Regions from separate parts of the Homo sapiens genome. Here region 1 is linked to region 2. Evidence: promoter capture Hi-C in 16 types of primary human blood cells and fetal thymus (Javierre and others, 2016). All regions are on one chromosome and are shown on one strand. The core of a region is centred on a gene start or on the middle of the fragment in contact, and the rest is flanking DNA. Distances in the headings are between cores, read along the strand shown.

Region 1 (3,676 bases), core at 168-2,667, 290 kb before region 2:
ATCTCGGCTTACTGTGGAGATCCACGGAGATCCACCATGGAGGGGTCCCGTGGCGTCGGTGATCTCCGTGAGGCTCCGGTGCTTTTCTACCACAAAGGCGCCCCGGGAGAGCTCCCTCTGGTGTTCACACCCGGCCTTTGTCATTGATGAGGTCAGTCTTCACTCCTTCTTTCCTTTCCGCTTTCAACCAATTCATCTATTCTTTCCCTTTCTTCAAATTGCAGCTCCGCTTTGCCCTTCCTGGAGCTCCTTGGGACAGGGTAGAAATCCGTGAGTTTGCGACTTTTCCTTGAGCTTTTTTTCGGGGGCCTGTTTGCCCTTGATGGGCTATTTCAAGGCTTGCTTGGCGATGGCTGCATTGGTGGAATCACAAGACGAGGCCGGAGGTTTTGGAAGTTCTGCTGCTTCACATTTTTGGTTTGGAAAAGGTGCGAGGGGTCCTCTCCTGGCGTCTTTGATCTTCTGTGCTTGGGCTTCGTGCTCCGTGTTGCATTCTTTTCCTGTGGATTCCAGCTAATGGTTTCCCCTGGCATTTGACTTCGTGACGTGTAACGGAGTTCTCCTCCTGAAGGCTGGAACACATTCCAGAGCATTTGTTAGGCTCACGGAGGAAAAGATCTTTGATTGCCAGGACATACATTCTCCCCAACGTCGGTGCAGCGCCTCCCTGGACCCCTCTGCTCCACTATCTGCGGGCTCGGGGCCGTCGCTGTCACCCCCGCTGCTGCCTCCGCCGCACGGGACTTGGACATCTTCCTGCCTGGAGAGGGGGACCCTGGGGAGGGGGCGCTCAGAGCGCAGAGCTGTTTGGAGGGCTGTGGTGGGAGCCGATGTCCCCCTCCTGCCGCTAGGCCCAGTAGGGCCCGACACACCCACCTCAGGAAAATTTTCTTTTTAGTGACACATAAAATAATGATGTCTTACAATGGATGGCATGTTGATTGAATAAAATATTGTAAAATAGACCTTATAAAATAAAAAAACTTGGAATTTAATTTTTATTTATTTATTTTAAAATCATAGAGATGGGGTCTCCCTATGTTGCCCAGGCTGGTCTCAAACTGCCGGCCTCAAGCGATGCTCCCACCTCCGCCTCCCAAAGTGCTGGGATTCCAGGCAGGAGCCACTGCGCATGGCCTTGAAATTTAAAAATAAGAAAATGTACAGAGATAGTATATAACCATTTAAAAGAATATCTTTGAGGACTATTTAATGGAGACTTGCCAATAATTATAATATGGAACAAGCAGAAGGAACATAAAAAACCATGTAGAGTACAATTCAATTTTGTTTAAATATATGTAGATGAGATGGAAATATACCAAAGTGTTAATGATGGTTATCTTAGTGTGGTCTTATAAGACTTCATTTTATCTCGATATTTTCCCATTTTTCCTATGATGATTTATCTTATAATCGGATAGCCATTTTCATAACTATGATACCATCATTTTATCTATGAAATCAAATTATATAGTATTTAATACATAGTCCATATTAAAACTGTCCCATTAATTAAAACTGTCCCATAAATATTAATTTAATGAAATTAAATTAAATGGTATAGTATCTAATACATAGTCCATATTAAAACTGTCCCAATGTTGTTAGAGTTTTTTTTAATACAAAATCCAATCAAGGATCACATATTTGTCATGTCTTGTTAGTCTCTTTTAATTTTGGATAATTTGTTGTTGTTGTTGTTTTTTATCTTTCTTTTTTTTTTTTTTGAGACAGAGTCTCACTCTGTCACCCAGGCTGGAGTGCAGTGGCGCCATATCGGCTCACTGCAACCTCTGCCTCCCAGGTTCAAGCGATTCTCCTGCCTCAGCCTCCCGAGTAGCTGGGATTACAGGTGCCTGCCACCACGCCTGGCTAATTTTTGTATTATTAGTAGAGATGTGGTTTCACCATGTTGGTCAGGCTGGTCTTGAACTCCTGACTTCAAGCAATCCACCCTCCTGGGCCTCCCAAAGTGCTGGGATTACAGGTGTGAGCCACCGTGCCCGGCAATACTGACATTTTTGAAGAGTCCAGGTCAGTTATCTTGTAAAATATCACATAATCTCGATTTGTCTAATTGTTTTCTCAATATTAAACATTTCTGGCAAGAAAACTATCTAGATGATATATCCCATTATGTCATGTCTCATTACTGGTCATGTGATGTTAGGTCACTTGATTAAGGAGGTGTTTGCCATATTTCTTTTTCTTTTTATTATTAGTATTATTTTGAGACAGGGTCTCACTGTGTTGCTGAAGCTGGAGTGCAGTAGTACAGTCATAGCTCACTGTAACCTAGAACTCCTGGGCTCAAGTGATCTTCCCACCGCAGCCTCCTGAGTAGCTAGGACTATAGAGGTGTGCACCACCATGCCCAGTTAATTTTTTTTTAAAATACTGTTTTGTAGAGATGGGGTCTTGCTGTTGCCCAGGCTGGTCTTGAACTCCTAGCCTCAAGCAATTATCCCTCCTAGGCCTCCCAAAGTGGTGGGATTATAGGCATGAGCCACCTCGCCTCGTCCATTTTACTGTTGTAGAGGACCTTTTCCCTTTGTAATTAATACTTTGAGACTGTTAGACCAATCCGTTGCATAACAAAGTTTCACCTGATAGTTTTAGCATCCGTTTATTATCCTTGCCTGAATTAATCACCACACTGGGAGTTGTAAAATAGTAATTTTCTAATTCTAAGATTCATTCTGCTTTCATGAGCTGGCAGTTGTTTCTGGAAATACATTATAGATTCATTGATTTATTTTTATTAAATGTGTTATAATTCACTGCCATCATTCTTCTTTTGAATGCTTAAAATTTTCCAAATCATCTTGTCAGGGTTCCTTCAGGCTGGCTCCCATATGTATCTTTTGCCATCCCAGTTGCTGAGCACATGCCCGCTTTGGCACGTTGTACTTCTGGTCATTTTTTTTCAAGGAGCCCTGTTTTTTTTAGGAAAATATGGTATTTTAAAACTAGAATCTGGGTGGCACACTGATACCTCCAATGCAAAGCTACCATCTCAGGAGTCTTCCTCACCTTATTTCAGTATTTGTGAAATAGTGAAATACATACTTGAAAGATCATCTCCCACAGCAAGAATCTGGTTCCCACGTGGACACATGGTGGGAAACACCACACACTTGGGCCTGCTAGAGGGGGGAGTGGGGGGAAGAAAAGCATCAGGAAAAACAGCTAATGGATGCTGGGCTTAATGCCTAGGTGATGGGATAATCTGTACAGCAAACCACCATGGCACCCGTTTCCCTGTGTAACAAACCTCCCCATCCTGCACATGTACCCCTGAACTTAAAAGCTGAAGAAAAAAAAGGGCAGGAAGCCACACTAATAGCAAATTAGAGATTAACTTAAAGGATCAGGAAGGGTCCCAGCAGGAAGCAGACTCCAACTCCTGTGATTGAATACAGAATTTCAATGAAGAAATTAACAACAAAAAAGAACCTGGTTCCCAATGACATTAGTATATTGATTCATTTGTTCAAACTACAATACATATTAAGCAGTTTCAGAGTTACTACACTGATAGCATTGCCCAACAATTAACCAGGTAAATAAAGCCTAATTTTTTCCATTCTTTTTGTCCCTTGACTATATTCCACTAAGCTTATACAGTCTGAGTACTCTGTTATAAAGTTATCTGAATTCTCTTCTTTGTATT
Region 2 (4,046 bases), core at 1,408-3,907:
AGGGTTTTGTAAAGTCCTTGATATGTAAGTGTCAATTCGCAATTCTCAAGTGATTATTATCAAATTGAGAGGAATGAATATAATGTATTTAAAGAAAAAAACAGAAAAGGAAAAATAGCCTATGCCCAATTGAACAGAGCTGAAACCATTTCAAAAGCTTGAATCTGCACGCACTTTCTTCCAAAGTGCCCGGGTACCGCAGTAGAAACCAGGCACTCCCGAGTTGCCCTTCCTTTGGGTGGCCTTTTTTTTTTTTGTCTCCCTGGAAAGGCGTTTTATTACACATCCTTTCCGCAGGTTGAGCTGCTCAGAGTCCGGGGCGAAGCAGGGGGCTTTCGTTATTCAGCCGCGAAAAAGCCATCCTTTCAGCTTCTGGTGGAAGGACGTGTAAAATTACTTTTGAATTTCCTCTTTTTGCTTCCGAAGACCAAGCAGAAGTTCTAAATTGACTGCTTGTTTTCAAATTCTCTACAGATGTATGCAGAATCAGACACCAAGATGCGTTTATTGACATGCAATGTACTTTCAAATTTTTCCAAACTTGAATTTCATATGACCTGATAAACTTCACTTTTCCTGCAAAAAGACAGGCACGTCCTTCAGCCTAAAAATCAAGAGTAGCGAATGAGGCTTGCAGATTACACCAGAAGGATAGAAATCGAAATATATATATTTATATTTATTATATATAAATATAAATTTTTATATATTTATTATATATAAACATAAATTTTTATATATTTATTATATATAAACATAAATTTTTATATATTTATTATATATAAACAAATTTTTATATATTTATTATATATAAACATAAATTTTTATATATTTATTATATATAAACATAAATTTTTATATTTATTATATATAAACAAATTTTTATATTTATTATATATAAACATAATTTTTTATATATTTATTATATATAAACATAATTTTTTATATATTTATGATATATAAATATAATTTTTTATATATTTATGATATATAAATATAATTTTTTATATATTTATGATATATAAATATAATTTTTTATATATTTATGATATATAAATATAATTTTTTATATATTTATGATATATAAATATAAATTTTTATATATTTATGATATATAAATATAAATTTTTATATATTTATGATATATAAATATAAATTTTTATATATTTATGATATATAAATATAAATTTTTATATATTTATGATATATAAATATAAATTTTTATATATTTATGATATATAAATATAAATTTTTATATATTTATGATATATAAATATAAATTTTTATTTATGATATCTAAATATAAATTTTTATTTATGATATCTAAATATAAATTTTTATTTATGATATCTAAATATAAATTTTTATTTATGATATCTAAATATAAATTTTTATTTATGATATCTAAATATAAATTTTTATATATGATATCTAAATATAAATTTTTATATATGATATCTAAATATAAATTTTTATATATGATATCTAAATATAAATTTTTATATATGATATCTAAATATAAATTTTTATATATGATATCTAAATATAAATTTTTATATATGATATATAAATATAAATTTTTATATATGATATATAAATATAAATTTTTATATATTTATGATATATAAATATAAATTTTTATATATTTATGATATATAAATATAAATTTTTATATATTTATATTTATGATATATAAATATAAATTTTTATATATTTATATTTATGATATATAAATATAAATTTTTATATATTTATATTTATGATATATAAATATAAATTTTTATATATTTATATTTATACATATAATAAATATAAATATAAATTTTTATATATTTATATTTATACATATAATAAATATAAATATATATATTTCGATTTATATCCTTGCTTAAATATATAAATATATATTTTATAAATATATAAATATATTTATATAATATAACATATATTTATATAAATTATATAAATTTATATATTTTTTAATATTTTATATTTAAATTTATATATATTTATATAAATATATATAAATTTATATTTATTTACATATTTAAGCTAGGAACTACTATTTTGTTTTAATTGCGTACATTTTGCTTGGAAATCACAGGAAGAAACACAACAAAGCATTGCCCAAGGTACAGAAACAATAATAAACGTACTTAAAACTCATTTAAATTCCAGCATTTTTCTCCTTATTTTAGAAGTTTAACATTTCAGAAGCAGACACTGCCTCCCTTCCTGCAACAACTTTCTCCTCTTAAGTCTCATTTTTCCCCAGTTTCAAGGGCGAATTCTAGAACTCCCCGGAACCGCCACCAGTTAACCAGAATTCCGTGGCTTTGGAAAATAAAACTGCTGTTATAGCTCTTCTGGGTATTTGAGAAATGCACTTGTGAAGGGTTAGAGTTGAATCTTTTGATGCGAAAGTCGGGTTTTCCTGATACTGGGATTCCGGGATTCCAGGTGTTGGGGTGGCCCAATTCCTGCGAGAAGCAATAGCGGGCGGTAACATGAGGAGCACGGTGCGTCCAGCGAGTCCTTCCGCCTGGGGCCCTGCCGACCCCCTGCCTGCGCCCCCAGGACTCTGGCCTCACCCGGCCGTGCCGGGGCCTCTGTGACGCGGCGTTCCAGGCACTCGGCCCCGGCCGAGCCCGTAGCTAGAGCGGCTCAGAGACAGGAGGCGGCGGCAGCAGCGGCGGCATGAACCACTGCCAGCTACCGGTGGTGATCGACAACGGCTCGGGAATGATCAAGGCGGGCGTGGCTGGGTGCCGGGAGCCCCAGTTTATCTACCCGAACATTATCGGCCGCGCCAAGGGCCAGAGCCGCGCGGCCCAGGGCGGGCTAGAACTCTGCGTGGGCGACCAAGCTCAGGACTGGAGGAGCTCGCTGTTCATCAGGTACCTCCTTCTCCCAGCAGGCTGCTGGGGCTGGGGAGGGTGGGTGGGGTGGGGGTGGGGTAGGGTGGGGCTGGGGAGGTTGGGGGGTGGGGCTGGGGTGGCTGGGGGTGGGGGGACTGGGGGTGTTGTCGGGGGGCAGGAAAGGACCCCAAAGGAGGTGCGCAATGGGGACAGAAAGAATAAGAAAGCCGGGAGCTGGAAAGCCCCATCCAGCTGGAATTACTACAAACGCACGGGCCACAAATCTCCAAGGGTACCACACATCTAAAAACTGAACATTTTGCTCTCTGTGGCTATACAAATGTATTAAAACGTATAAAGTTATCGAACGAATTCATTTAAGAATATTAACTCATGGTCCCTTTTGTCACTTGGGTTATTCTCTTCAATTGACATTTAAACTATACTATAATGTGGACATTTCCCAATTTTTTAAAAGTCACAAGGTTCCAAAGGACAGAGAAAATGGAAAGCAACAAAAATCGCAGAGGTAGGCCGGGCGCGGTGGCTCACGCCTGTAATCCTAGCACTTTGGGAGGCCGAGCAGGGCGGATCACGAGGTCAGGAGTTCGAGACCATCGTGGCTAACACGGTGAAACCCCGTCTCTACTAAAAATACAAAAAAATTAGCCGGGCGTGGTGGCGCGCGCCTGTAGTCCCAGCTACTCAGGAGACTGAGGCAGGAGAATGGCGTGAACCCGGGAGGCGGAGCTTGCAGTGAGCTGAGATCGCGCCACTGCACTCCAGCCTGGGTGACAGAGCGAGACTCTGTCTCCAAAAAAAAAAAAAAAAATTGCAGAGGTAAGTAGCTGTGCTATTTTTGGCTGACACTTACCTGCTGTGAGAGGCTGTGGCAGTTATTGCCCATAAAGGGATATTGGTAATAAACGCGGGGAATTAACTGAGGGTCGAAGACAATAGAAACTAGAAAAATAAAAAGCTGTCATTGATCTTATTGCTTTCCTTACAGTTACCCAGTGGAGCGTGGTCTCATTACTTCATGGGAGGACATGGAGATCATGTGGAAGCATATCTATGACTATAACCTAAAGCTGAAGCCGTGTGATGGCCCAGTCTTGATTACTGAGCCAGCGCTGAACCCACTGGCCAACCGGCAACAGATCACGGAAATGTTTTTTGAGCATCTGG

Evidence for each region. Contacts are between HindIII fragments. The CHiCAGO score rates a contact against its expected background, and 5 or more counts as called.
Region 1: a contact is called between a fragment that was not itself captured here and the fragment with the promoter of ACTRT3 in region 2, in 1 of 17 cell types (total CD8 T cells). The highest score is 5.7, in total CD8 T cells.

The regions. Positions count from the first base shown.
Region 1 is chr3:170,059,329-170,063,004 of GRCh38, reverse strand. The region is part of intron 2 of GPR160 (G protein-coupled receptor 160); the gene reads right to left. It overlaps LOC124909455 (a long non-coding RNA gene), which reads left to right and starts at 2,016. Exons shown (of 3, transcript XR_007096156.1): 1 at 2,016-3,676. It also overlaps the pseudogene KMT5AP3. RefSeq lists enhancers at 231-751, 752-1,273. The HindIII fragment of the contact is 4,412 bases long and covers 1-3,623 here.
Region 2 is chr3:169,768,172-169,772,217 of GRCh38, reverse strand. It overlaps ACTRT3 (actin related protein T3), which reads left to right and starts at 2,657. Exons shown (of 2, transcript NM_032487.5): 1 at 2,657-2,897; 2 at 3,868-4,046. The coding sequence starts at 2,698. RefSeq lists enhancers at 173-272, 2,433-2,577, 2,669-2,928, 3,790-3,934, cis regulatory regions at 2,505, 3,862 and a silencer at 2,519-2,588. The HindIII fragment of the contact is 4,942 bases long and covers 160-4,046 here.